Linked DNA regions of Homo sapiens: all the other regions are linked to region 1. The links are contacts of gene promoters, found by promoter capture Hi-C in human tissues and cell types (Jung and others, 2019). All regions are on one chromosome and are shown on one strand. Each heading gives the region's core, a stretch centred on a gene start or on the middle of the fragment in contact. The rest is flanking DNA. Distances are from core to core; before and after follow the strand shown.

Region 1 (4,394 bases), core at 1,895-4,394:
GTCGTGCCAGCTCGCGTCGTGCCTCGTCAGGACAGGAAGTCTTGCTGGGTACGTGCTGTTCTGCTTGTTACGGACAATCCGGAGCAGTTCCTCAAGCCTAATTTCAAGGTCTGGGGGAAGAGTCCTCTCCAGCTTCCTTGCAAACAGCTGCGGTCCCGGGCCCTCCCACCACAGGCAGGCCTGCGTGCAATGCAACCCCTATGCATGGCCCAGGGCTTCGCTCCTCCTAATGACTCCAGGCCCCAGCTTTTTGCCCTTGGCTCCATCCAGGCCCTGGAGTGGACCCTTCTGACCCCTCCCTGGTCATGCCAGGAGGTGTTGCCAGCAGCATGTCAGCCTGTTGGCTGCCATCCCCAAGGGCCTGGGCCGCTCACTGGCCAGGCACTCCAGATGCCCTCAGCCTGGCCTGTGAGTGGCCCCTGCCTTCAGCCCTCCTGGGCAGTGGGAGGCTCATCTGGCTCAGGGCCCCAGGTGCTCCGTGTCCTTTTCCCTCCAAATTCCCGTGCCTGGGCTGCCATCTCTTGGGAACATAGGAGCCAGGATCCTAGATAGATCCCCATGCCCCTGCGCATCCCCCAAAGCACTTCTCAAAAAGAGAGCCCTTCAGGATGGGGGTGGGAGGCACGCTGATGCCGAGGGAGAGAGACCTTCTCCAAAGCCTGCATCTGGCCCCTGCCACTGCTCTTTCCTAGTCCTCCTGTCTCCCCACGCCCCCAGTACAAAGCCCACTCCCACTGGAAGAAGGACAGCCTACAGAGGCCTCCCCCTTCCTCATAACACCTCCTCACTCTCTAAGCACAGTTTGGTCACCTCCTCCAGGAAGGCTTCCTTGACAACCCCGCTCCCAGGCTGGGGGAGGAGCCCCAGGGCACTGATGGTTGTCAGCGCATTCACCTCAGTGGGTGGCCCCATCCACCCACAGATGGTGAGCACCTCAACTGAGGCCAGGCCCCCCTCACTCTCTGCCATCGCAGAGGGCTCAATAGAGACAAGGGCTCCAGCGGGCCGACCATGAAGGAAGCAGGTGTGTGTGGGCTTCCCTGAAAAATGCACCTCCAGGTGCCCTGGACAGGTGGCACCTTTTAGGCAACCAGAACCAGGAGGGCCTTTAGTAAGGATGGTGACCCTCCACCATCCCCAGGTCACACACCTCCCACAGGACAGCCATGGCCTGTTGCCTCCCCGAAGGGCATATGTGCCCTAGACTAGCACAGGACTGGCACAGAAGGCTTTGGCTCCAACGTGCGCCCCTGCTTGGCAGGCCCATCATCTGAAATATTTGCTTTCTGCCGGGCCCTGGCTCGGCCTCCACACCCCCAATGCAGGCCCTGCTGGTGACAAACATGGTGAAGAACGAAGCCGTAGCTCCTGGCAGTGTCTCTGCGGAGACAGACATGCTCCCCAGTAGGGCTGAGCAGCAGAGAACACGACAGGCTCTGAGGCTAAAGCTGGCGCCCTTCAGGAGCTCAGAGAGAAGCTGCCCCAGGCCACGGGCATGGATAGGCATCCCGGGGGTAGGGCAGTCACTCCAGCCGCTCTTCATGATGACCTCCCGGGCACTCAGAAGCGCCCCTTCCCCGCCGGTTCTAGCCACAGGATGGACAGACCTTCCCTCCCTCTCTCCTGCGGGCCCATGCAGGGAGAGGCCAGCCAGCTGGGGTTCGTTTCTGGACGTTTGGGAGAAGGGTCGTCCCTTCGGTCCTAGCAGAGAAACGTCAGGCCTGAGAACTCCAGCTCTCCTCCTGGATCACCTCGTCCCTGGAAGTCCCTCTCCCACAGACCCCAGGCTGCCTGGAGGCAGAAGCCAGCACCCAACATGGGCCACAGAGTGGCAGTGCACGTGGCAGTGCACATCTGCAGAATGGAGGTGCGCGGACGGGGGCGAGGGTGCACGGGGGCTACCTCAACGGCCGCTCTCCCCTGAGCCCACCCTTGCAAAAAGCTCCATCATCCAGGCAGCTCCGTTCTGGGTGTTTGTCAGAGGTGGTGACTTTGAACACCTCTCCATCCTTTAAAAGCAGGGCCTGAGAGCCTAAGGATTAAACTTCAATCACTGCTAACATGGGTGCAGAGCTTGGGAGCTTGCCCAGGGCTTCCACAGACACCGCCGTTAGTTATGATTCATGCTCCAGCAGCGCTGGGAAGTGGGCCGAGGGAACTGAGGCCGGGGTGGGTGCGGAGGTGGCTCTGACGGGGAGCGCCGATCCAGGATCTGGTCCGGACCCTGAGCTCGGCAGGACCTGTGCGCACGCAGGTAGCGTCGCGTCCTCCCCCAGGCTGCGAGAGGTTGCTCTGCCATCAGGCCATGGACCCCGAGCCGCCCGTGCTGCGCGCGCGCGTGTGCGCGCCCCCGCCTGCGCCCATGCCTGCGCCGGGGGAGGCGAAGGAGGCTCCAGTCTTAGAAAGAGCAGCTTCTGGAACTCACCACCCAGGCCGGCCGCCGCTCGGCCCCGTCCCGCAGGCTGCAGGCGGCCCTGGAGGGGGCGCCCTCGCCGAGCGCGCGCCCCGCGCCGCCGCCCCGGACTCCTCCCCGGCGCCGCGCGGGCAGGTTCGACCAGGCGGCCGCGGGCTCCGGTTCCCGGCCAGCTCCCCAGGGCCCGCGGCCCGCCCCGCCCCGCGCGCCCGCCCCGCTGCGCAACTCGACCCAAGTTGGAAGCCGATCGCAGGCGGCCGCACTCGCGCCCAGCGCAGGGCGGCGGCGGCGGCGGCGGCGCAGCTCCGGCGAGCGAGGCGGCGGCCGCACGGCCAAGCGTGGACCGCGGGGGGCGCCCGCGCCCGGGAGCAGCCGGAGGACTCGCGGCGGCGCCGGCGCCCCGCCCGGGAAAGTAAAGTTGGAGACGGAGGGAGCGCGCGGGCGCGGGGGCCCGGAGGAGCGGCGGCCGGCGCCCCGGCGCGCCGAGCCCTAGCCGGCCGGATGGGAGGCGGAGCGCCCGGGCCGCCGCCGCCTGTCGCCTGCGCCCCGGCTGGGCTCCGGGACCGCGGGGCCGCTCAGGCACGCCCGCTCGGGCGCCGCGTCGCCGTGGGCTCGACGCCGGGGCGCTCCCCGTGAGCCGGGCCGAGGGCGGGGCCGCGCGAGGACCCCGGGACCTGCCCCCCTCCCCCCGCAGCCGCGTCGCCGCTCGCTCCGGGCGCCTCCTGCTCTGCACTTACACGCTCGGCAGCTGCGGGGAGCCCGGCAGCCACGCTCTCCGGCGCGCCGCCCGCGGAGCCACCACGGCCGAGGGCCGGCTGCTGGGCGCCGCGGTCCCCGGCGGGCGCGCCCGAGCAGCAGGCGGCGATGCGGGCGCCGACCCCGGCTGGGGGGCGCCCGAGCTGCCGCGGCTGCGCCCCGGCTCCAGGAGGGACGGCGTAGCTCGCGGGAGGACCATGGCGTCCCCGGCGCTGGCGGCGGCGCTGGCGGTGGCGGCAGCGGCGGGCCCCAATGCGAGCGGCGCGGGCGAGAGGGGCAGCGGCGGGGTTGCCAATGCCTCGGGGGCTTCCTGGGGGCCGCCGCGCGGCCAGTACTCGGCGGGCGCGGTGGCAGGGCTGGCTGCCGTGGTGGGCTTCCTCATCGTCTTCACCGTGGTGGGCAACGTGCTGGTGGTGATCGCCGTGCTGACCAGCCGGGCGCTGCGCGCGCCACAGAACCTCTTCCTGGTGTCGCTGGCCTCGGCCGACATCCTGGTGGCCACGCTGGTCATGCCCTTCTCGTTGGCCAACGAGCTCATGGCCTACTGGTACTTCGGGCAGGTGTGGTGCGGCGTGTACCTGGCGCTCGATGTGCTGTTTTGCACCTCGTCGATCGTGCATCTGTGTGCCATCAGCCTGGACCGCTACTGGTCGGTGACGCAGGCCGTCGAGTACAACCTGAAGCGCACACCACGCCGCGTCAAGGCCACCATCGTGGCCGTGTGGCTCATCTCGGCCGTCATCTCCTTCCCGCCGCTGGTCTCGCTCTACCGCCAGCCCGACGGCGCCGCCTACCCGCAGTGCGGCCTCAACGACGAGACCTGGTACATCCTGTCCTCCTGCATCGGCTCCTTCTTCGCGCCCTGCCTCATCATGGGCCTGGTCTACGCGCGCATCTACCGAGTGGCCAAGCTGCGCACGCGCACGCTCAGCGAGAAGCGCGCCCCCGTGGGCCCCGACGGTGCGTCCCCGACTACCGAAAACGGGCTGGGCGCGGCGGCAGGCGCAGGCGAGAACGGGCACTGCGCGCCCCCGCCCGCCGACGTGGAGCCGGACGAGAGCAGCGCAGCGGCCGAGAGGCGGCGGCGCCGGGGCGCGTTGCGGCGGGGCGGGCGGCGGCGAGCGGGCGCGGAGGGGGGCGCGGGCGGTGCGGACGGGCAGGGGGCGGGGCCGGGGGCGGCTGAGTCGGGGGCGCTGACCGCCTCCAGGTCCCCGGGGCCCGGTGG
Region 2 (4,394 bases), core at 1,287-3,786, 100 kb after region 1:
GCAGGTGACACGTGTGCCCAAAGGTCACAGGTCACTCCCCTCCCACCTCCCTGACCCCACTTCTGACCAGAGTCAGCCCTTACCCCTCCCCGGGGAGCACTGGTCCAAAGCCCCTCATTCTCCAGGTCTGTTTCCTGGTCTCTAAAATGGGAGTACACCCAAGTGCTGTTTGTTTCCTTGTTTGTAGGATGGGAACAGCCTGGGTTTTACAGCAGCCGTCTCCGGGAGCCCGAGCTGGAGCAGGAAGAGGCCCGGCCGGGACTCTGCAAGGCGTGGGGTGCAGGTGGTTCTCCTTTCCTGGGGTCCCCGCTCTAGGGTTGATATGGCCTCCCTGAGCTCCAGGGAGATCACAGCTGAGTGCTGAGCCCACCTTCCGGCTGTGGCGGCGGGGCCACCCAGGCCCTGTGGAGGGGCCTGCACTCCGTCTCTGCCTCCCACCTCCCTGCCTGGGCCCAGGTAGCCACGGTCCAGGGGCAGGCCAGATGAGTGTCTGGGGTTCCAGCCTCCCTGCTGCCGGGCAGTGCTGCGCTGTGCCGGCCGTGCCAGCGTGGGGAGGGGGCCGTCATGGCTCTCAGCTCCTGCAGCCCATGGCCCAGAGGCTACCCTCACCAGGGCAGGCTCCAGGCCCTGAAGACACCCCTCTCCCTCCAGGGCAGCCTGTGCCAGCTCTGAAAGCGCCCCCGCCCCCCACCCACTGCCTCGGGGAGGTCGTCACAAGGCTTCCTGTGCAGGTACTCACCGGGGCGGCAGGAGCACAGGGCTCCATCTGCCCACAGGAGAAAGGAGGGAGCAACTTCGCCTGCCCTTCCCTGGGGGAACACGGCTGGAGCTGTGGCTGTGATGACTGGAGCTGTGGCTGTGGCTGTGACAGCTGGGTGGCAGGTCCAGGCGTCCCACCCAGGGTACTGTCCTCTGCATCCAGTCCAGGCAACACAGAATAAGCATCATGCTCCAGAGGAGGTAGCCTGCCTGTCCTTCAAATCCCTCTCCTGAGGCCCATCCTGCCCTTATGCTTGTCTTATCCCCAACCAGACAGGCTGCCCGTGCCACTCCGATGCCCAGCACCCACCAGCATAGCCACCTGGAGTTGTTTCCCCAAGCTGCAGGCCACTGTGTTAAGGGCCAGTCAGAGCTCATTTGGACAGGAAGGTTTTCTACACATTACAGCTCCCAAGCTGAAAGAAAGTTGTGAAAGCTGGACAGGTGGACATGGGTGGGAGAGGTGACACGGGTGGGACAGGTGGACACAGGTGGGAGAGGTGACACGGGTGGGACAGGTGGACACGGGTGGGACAGGTGGACACGGGTGGGACAGATGGACACGGGTGGGAGAGGTGACCCGGGTAGACGTGGGCAGGAGGGGCAATCTGGGTGGACGCTGGTGGGAGGGGTGTAATCTGGGTGGTCACGGGTGGGACGGGTGACCCGGGTGGACGAAGGTGGGAGGTGTGGTCCGGGTGGACACGGGTGGCAGGTGTGATCCGGGTGGTCGCAGGTGGGAGGGGTGAGCTGGGTGGACGAGGGTGGGAGGTGTGATCTGGGTGGACAAGGGTGGCAGGTGTGCCTCAGGTGGAGAAAGCAGCGTGATGCCTGCAGCCCAAATGGAAGTCACAGCCACCCAGGCAGGCAAGAGCTATGCCAGGCTGAGAGATGGAGATTTTGTCAGGAGGGCCAGGAGCATCTTGGGCTGACCCAGAGGTGGGGGTGACGCAGGCCCAGTAGGGGTTGAAGGCGGGGCTGGTGAGCTGGACAGGCAAGGGGAAGGCTGAATCCTGGCTAGAATATTACAACTCAGGTGATAATTATGCCCACTGTGGAGTCCAGATGGGCCCCCGGAGCTCTGGGATCAAGGCCTCATCTTCCCCGGTGAGGAGGAGGGTAGCCCCGAGGGGAGTGGGCAGCTCCATGGGGAGCCCAGGGCTGGGCCTGACTTCTCAGAGCCTTCCTGGCAGGCTGCAAAGGACCTTCAGTCATCCCCCTTCCAGCCTGGCTTGAATTCCCTGAGATGGGGACTCACTGCTAAGCCACCTCCATCACCACGGACGTGGACACAGGAGGGTAAGGCAGTGGTCCAGCGTGGTGGCCCCCATGTGAGGGACAGCAGGGATGGGAAGAAAAACGGCAGGAGAGTGGGGAGGCAGAACACAGAATGGGCTGCGGGAACGGGAGGCCAGCAAGGCTGGGGCCGCTCTGTCTGCTCAGATAGACTCATTCCAACGGATGCCGGCCAGATTCGTGTCCTGGGGCCGCCAAAACCAAGTCCCACAAACTGAAGCTTCAAACAACAGACACTGCTTCTCCCCAAGTTGTGGAGGCCAGAAGCCCGAGATCCAGGTGCCAGCAGGACTGTGGTGGCTCTGCAGTCCCCAGGGAGGCTCCTTCCTGCCTCTTCCAGCCTCTGCAGGCTACAGCAGGACTCTGGTCTCTGCCCCCACTGGCCCCGCACACTCCCTGCCTGTCCATGCCTCTTCCCCCCTTCTAAGGACACCAGTCATGTGGGTTCAGGGCCCACCCTACTCAAACAGGGCCTCATTTAACTGAACCAATTACACCTGCAGTTCCCTGTTTCCGGAGAAGGGCAAATTCTGGGGTTCCAGGAGAGACATGAAATGAGGGGGACATTATCCACCCAGTATACTGGCTGAAGGCCTCAGGGCCTCCTGGGCTGGTCTCAGGGTGGGAGGGAGACTTGGTCCCTGTGGAGGTGAGCAGTCCAGGGCCTTCAGAGCCAGCCTCCACAAACGTGTGGATGAATCAGTGAGGGAGAGGGCTGTGCTGTGGCCCTTGTCCTCGGGGAGTAAGCCTGTCTGTGGTGATGGCCATAGCACCAGGATGCAAGGTAGCAGGTGAGAGGGGCAGGGACACAGGCGGTGCCGCCCATCCTGCCCGGGGAAGTCTGGAAGCCTCTTCGGGCTGACCTGCCAGCCAGGCCTTGGAGGCGAGGAGGCACTGCTGTGAGGACTCTGCAGCCCTTGGCTGGGACATGTCCCCCACTGTGGGCAGCTGCTGCTGCAGACACACTGGCTGTTAAGGAGCAGAGTCCAAGCCTCCTGCAATACGTTCGGGAACTTTCTGCCTTGGAAAACATCGAATCTCTAATATTGTCCCTTTCCTCTAGAAAAGGCACTGGGTACAGAGATGACAAGGCGCTGGCCCTGCCTTCCAGGGGCCCCCAGCATCATGGGGAAGACACCCAGTGACTGGCCAACTCATCTCTGCCTTTCCGCTGTCGGCTGCACAAGTGTGCACCTGCTGTGGCCCCTGGGAAGTCTTCTGTGCTAAAGTGGAAAGGCTTCCAGTGCCTTCACAAAGTAAATGCTGCTGAACGACAGCTGCCTATCTCAGTCCACTTGTGTCGCTACAAAGGATACCCGAGGCTGGGTGATTTATAAAGAACAGAAGCTTACTTGCTCACGGTTCTGCACGCTGCCTGGGAAGCACGGCCCTGGCATCTGCTTGGCTTCTGGGGAGGCCTCAGGAAGCTTCCACTCACGGTGGAGGGGGAGGGGCTGCGTGTGTGGAGCTCACAGGGCGGGAGAGGAAGTCAGAGAAGGAGGTGGGTGCGGGCTATTTTCAGTAGCTGCTTTGTCGGAAACTCAGACAGTAGAATTCACTCCCCAACCCCCGCCCCAGGGCATGAATCTACTCACAGGGATCCACTCCATGAGGAAAACACCTTCCATTAGGCCCCACCTCCAACACTCTGGGATCAAATTGCAACCTGAGGTTTGGAGGCCCAACCATGCAGCTGCCAGCACTGCTCCTGGATATCACCAAGGAATACGGGTCAGTCTCAGTCCTAGAGATAGCTGCTACCCTCAGGGACTCAGCCCTAGCAGTACCAAGGACAGCGGCCTAACCACCAGATGTGCCTCCTGATAAGGTCATTGGAGCATTCGCAGACAGTCTTCAAGCATCCACTGTGTGCCAGGCTCGCGCACCGAGGCCATGCCAGCGGGTGTCATCATGCCAGCTCTTCCCAGGCCTGGGCAGCTGAGACCTGTGCATGCCAGGCCAAAGTCTCCAGCCCCAGATGTGAACCTGGAATGCCCCGGCCCACCTCCTCCTTCTTGGGGTCCCCAGATTCGCTTCCCGAGGACCTCGAAGGGTTCACATTCTCACCATAAGCAGGCGCTCACACCGGGGGCAAGCAGAGGGACAGCAGCCCCCTAGAGGCAGGGCCCAAGGGTCCCATGCACTTCACCCCTGCTGCAGGACCTGGCCTGGGCCTGTGACTTGGGAATGCCACATCATAGAGGTTCTCTGGAAACAAGGAATGCAGACCCCATGACCACGTACCCCCACTCCCCAGATGACCCACTGCAGCAGACCAAACATGGGCATCCATCTCTGAGTGCCCCGCAGTGCAAGCAAATGACGTGTCTGGGTTTGTG
Region 3 (4,394 bases), core at 1,036-3,535, 90 kb before region 1:
GCTCCAGGTCGATGGTCATGGCCACTCAGGGACCCAGGTCTCCCCATGTTGCTCCCACACCGAGGCCATGGTCACCTGGCAGGTGCAGGTCCAGCCTACGGGAAGTGGAGAGGAGTGAGAAGGATGCAAGGCCAGTATCTCCAGCCCCATCCAAGCCTGGATGTGGCACAGGCCAGAACAGACTCCTGGAGCACCTTCATGGCTGGGCCTGAGGTGGGTCCGGCAGGGCAGCCCTGGCCTAGTTCCCTCCCTAGGAAGAAAGTCTGCAGCCCGCACCATGAGGGGTGGCACGCTGTGTGTTAACTTTCCTCCTGTGAGGAGCCTTACGGACCGAGAGACCTTCTGAAACTCAACTGATTTAATTAATCAGTGTTGTAATTATTATTGTTTTTGTGCTCAGATTATTATAACTTGGCAGGAGGGAGAGCCTTCAAGCAGGATGCTTTGTCCTTCCGGAAGAACCCCTGGTGTCTGGAAAGCATCCTTGCTTTCTGGCAAAACAGGATGTTCTAGGTGGTTCCGGCTATCTCCTCCCTAGAATGTGGAGTCGGCGGCCCTCCAAGGATCCTTGCCACCTTCCATTGCAGAGGAGACTCCAGGCACAGGAAAAAGTGACCCGTGGCTCTTTGTAGACATAGGATTGGAAAAAATGGTCTTTTTATAAATATCAATAATTTTCATAATTTTCCCAATTGCACATGTAATGCTGCTGCTGCTCTTTTCCCCAGTACTAGGGCCCTGTCACATGGACGTGGGGTAGGCCGTGATCTTGGAGCCAGGAGCACAGGAGGGCTGTGGGGAGGTGGAGGCCGGGGGTTGCAGCTGCACTGATGTGCAGGGGGCTGGGTCCAGGCCAGCTTTCCTGTCTGCACTGCCTCCTTCATCCCGACCCCCGTCCTGACCCTGTGTCCCTGGAGAGCTGCCTCAGGGTCACTGTCCAAGGGGCCTCTGCCCTGGTCACAACCCTCATCCTGTTCTTGTGGTTCCAGGACACCCTGCTGAGCCGTTGTGGACCTCCGTGGACCCAGGATGCCCAGAGCCACAGAGCAGACACCTGTGTCTTCCAGGGCCTTGCTCAGAGCAGGCTGCGGGGACAAAGAGCATTTCCTCCCTTCCTCCCTCCCTCCCTCCCTGCCTCTGTCCCTTCCTTTCTCCCTCCCTCCTTCCCATCATCCCTCCCTCCCTCCCTTCTTCCCTCCCTTCTTTCCTCCTCCCTCCCTCCCTCTCTTCCTTCCTCCCTCCCTCTCTCCCTCCCCTCCTCCCTTTCTCCTTCCCTCTCTCCCTCCCTCCCTTCCTCCCTCCCTTCTTTCTCCCTCCCTCCCTCCCTCCTTTTCTCCCTCCTTCTTTCCCTCCCTCCCTTCCTTCCTCCCTGTCTTCCTTTCTCTTCCTCCTTCCTTCAGTAATTTATTAACCAAAAACTCCCTATTGAGCACCTACTGTGTGCAGTGTAAGAGGCTAGCCTGTCTGGCTGAGCTGAGCCTAAGGCGGAGGTGACCCCTCCTGAGAGCTGCGCCACTCTCAGAGCAGGTAAGGGCTCCCATCACACAGGAGGCTCTGAGGCCCGGCATGCACTGGCTGTGCTGTGGACTTGCGCATGTCCTAGGCACAGGCTCACACCTGAAGCCCGGCTCTAGCGGCCGAGACAGCCTTGACAAGGGCTGGCTCCTGCCAGCCAGAATAGAGATGAGCCAGAAGCCCCAGGCTGCCTCCTGCAGGAGGCGTCGAGTCCCGACGTCATCCACAGAGGCACAGGCACGTTTCCTAGGCACACATGCGCCACCCCACCCCCCACCACAGGCGCATTGCAGGCGGCTTTCTGAGAGGGGACAGCACAGGGAAGTGGTGAGCTTTGGCATCAGGATGACCAGGGAACCCCGGGCTGCGACCAGGGCACAGGCTACCAGCACTCTGCCTCTGTGCCTCGTATCCATGACATGGGGCTCACACTAACAGCACACACTGCGGGAAGGATTAGGTGTGATACTCTGGGCCAAGTGTGGGCACGGGGAATCGAGAAATGGCTCGGTGGCCCACGGCTGCCATCAGCATTGTCGTATGGCGAGGATTTTATGGTTTCACCACGATGGGTGTACATTCTTCAGACAAGGGCGGACACCCGGGAACCCGGAACCTGTCCCGCAGCTGTGGAGCCAGCATAGGTCCCACCGCCCCAGGGACAGGCCCAGCTGCTTGTTCTGGGATATGGGGCTGCAAATGTTGTGAACTTCCCAGGGGGCTGAGAGAGGCCAGCTGGGGACTCCGAGGACAATGGGGAGGTGGGGAGGTGGGGAGGTGGGGAGGTGGGGAGGTGGGGCTCCAGCTGGGGAGGAAGCATGGGAGGGTGGGGACCGAGGTCCCCAAAGTCTTCTGCAGACCCTGAGATTCTGAGATGTACGCTTTAGAACACGACAATGGCTTAGTGACTTTCACTCAGGGACAAAGCCCCCAGCAGAGTCAGCATCCACGCTCCTAAGTGTCAGGTGCCTCTGGGCCGCCTCTCTACGCTGTGCCTGCCCCTGCCTCTGCCAACGACCTACCCCTTAGGTTCTGGCGAGAGAGTCCCAGGCTTTCTTTACACCAGGGCCAGGGCTGCTCAGATCTCCTGACACAGCCACCTGCTGGGCCTCAGGGACACTCAGGCACCCTCCCCCTGGAAAGGCCACCTGGGTTGTGGAGACAGACAGGCACAAGTGTGGCTCAGAGCTCTGCCTCCCTGGAGCTGCCTCCTGACCACTCTGGGTCTCCATTTCCCACCTGTAGAGAGGCGAACAACAGCACTGGGCATGGGGCTAATGTGGAAAAGACCCTGTGGAATCTGCATGTCGCATGTGCTCACCTTGTGTTTCCGGAAGGATTCTCAGGCTTGAGGCGTGGGAGTGAGGAATCCCAGCCAGGGCTGGGCCACCAGCAGAAACCTGCAGGGAAGAGGACCTGGTGTGAGGAGTGGGCTGCAAGGTGAGGAGTTCTGGGGACTAAGGGGGTGGGATCTGTGCTTCATCCTGGGAGGTCATTCAACAGGGGCCTGCCCCCAGGAGCAAGTCACCTGCCTGGTCGCTGCTATGGCGACATAAACACCAATGACAGGCAGGCCCCGCTCTGGACGCTGGCTCTGTGGTTTTAATCTTTCCCAGCTCTATTTTACGCTGTTTATCAGCATTTATGAAGGACAGGTATGCCTTGGGCTGTCCCCAGGAATCCTGCTATCCTCATTGTGGGTCTAGATGGCTCCAGACTGGTCTCCTCGCTGCTCCATTGCTGCAGTGGGGACCCAGTGAGCACTGGGGGCCGGGGCTGATGCGGCTGGAGCACAAGCACGCGGGGTACATTTGCAGCCCCACCCAGCCGAACGGTGCACAGCAGGCCGGGCTGAGAGCAGCGGGAGGAGCCCGGGGCTGGGGGTTGACCTTTTCCCAACGTCCACGTCAGTGCTGGCAGGCGATGGGCTTCTCTGTGGCCGGTCCCTCTCTGGCTCTCTCCAGGTTCTGCATGTGTCCTGCTCTCTCCTGAGCACCTGTCACGCCCCTGAGGCTTGCTCACTCCTCTGTCTCGGGGCTTGCAGAAGAATGCTTGGGCAGGTCTCTCTAGCACCAAGGCCCTGCTTCTCCCCAGCCCATGGTTTCCGGTGTGGACCTGCCAGCCTTCCCGGTGAGCACAGGATGGTGAGAACCTGCAGCAGCCATGTAGGTGGGGCTTCGTGGAAGGCTGCGTGGGTACCCAGGCTCTCTAGGGTAGCCTATCCTGCACACGGCTTGGTGTGCACAGAGCTGACTTGGAGGTGAAATGGATGCATTTTGTAGATTCAATACCCTGGATGCCCCACCCCAGGGATAGATGCGCCACAGAGGGCCTGGCTGGAACTTTCCCCAGACCACAGCAGGGACAGCTCTGTTGCAGGTGCTGACAGCAAGGCCTGGGGAGTAGAGGGAGCAGTCAGAGGCAGAGAGACGGAGGTGAGGCACAGTTCTTCCAGATCCTAGAATAAAGGAGAGGAAAATATCTGTTAGAAAATCCGCTGCAGCACCCCCAAGAGGCGCAGTTTGGTGCCCGTGCACTCCCGCTCTCCCTGCAGCTCGGGAGCTGCTGTGCAGTGGGGGAAGCCGAGACCCCCACAGCTCTGTTTTGCTCTCAGTGACAGAAGGCGTGGTAAAAGCTCTGTGTCCAGCCCTTGCCTGAGTTACATCACAATATGAGGAAGCTGCAGCTGGCCTGTGGTTCACTGTTGACTAAGAACAAGGCAAGCTAGGAGCAGCAGAGTGAAGCCCAGGCCCTGCAGAAAATAGCAGCTGAGGGTGAGGAGGAGAGGAGGGTGAGGAAGGTGAGGAGGTGAGGAGGTGAGGAGGTGAGGAGTGAGGAGGTGAGGAGTGAGGAGGTGAGGAGTGAGGAGAGAGGATGTG

The links. The method cuts DNA at HindIII sites, captures the fragments that hold promoters and counts their contacts. A contact is called where the count stands out against the background at its distance.
Region 2: a fragment that was not itself captured here is called in contact with the fragment with the promoter of ADRA2C in region 1 in 3 of the 25 tissues and cell types used here (heart left ventricle, small bowel and spleen).
Region 3: a contact is called between a fragment that was not itself captured here and the fragment with the promoter of ADRA2C in region 1, in 2 of the 25 tissues and cell types used here (aorta and lymphoblastoid cells).

Annotation. Positions count from the first base shown.
Region 1 is chr4:3,763,241-3,767,634 of GRCh38, forward strand. ADRA2C (adrenoceptor alpha 2C) reads left to right here and starts at 3,145. Exons shown (of 1, transcript NM_000683.4): 1 at 3,145-4,394. The coding sequence starts at 3,367. The HindIII fragment of the contact is 18,027 bases long and covers 1-4,394 here.
Region 2 is chr4:3,864,710-3,869,103 of GRCh38, forward strand. No RefSeq gene overlaps it. Among named protein-coding and RNA genes, the nearest start is that of ADRA2C, 100 kb to the left of the region's middle. RefSeq lists enhancers at 1-116, 117-1,057, 3,539-4,052. The HindIII fragment of the contact is 4,095 bases long and covers 490-4,394 here.
Region 3 is chr4:3,673,767-3,678,160 of GRCh38, forward strand. It overlaps LINC02171 (long intergenic non-protein coding RNA 2171), which reads right to left and starts at 4,089. Exons shown (of 3, transcript NR_034136.1): 1 at 3,405-4,089; 2 at 2,837-2,915; 3 at 1-95. RefSeq lists a silencer at 1,536-1,830. The HindIII fragment of the contact is 8,065 bases long and covers 1-4,394 here.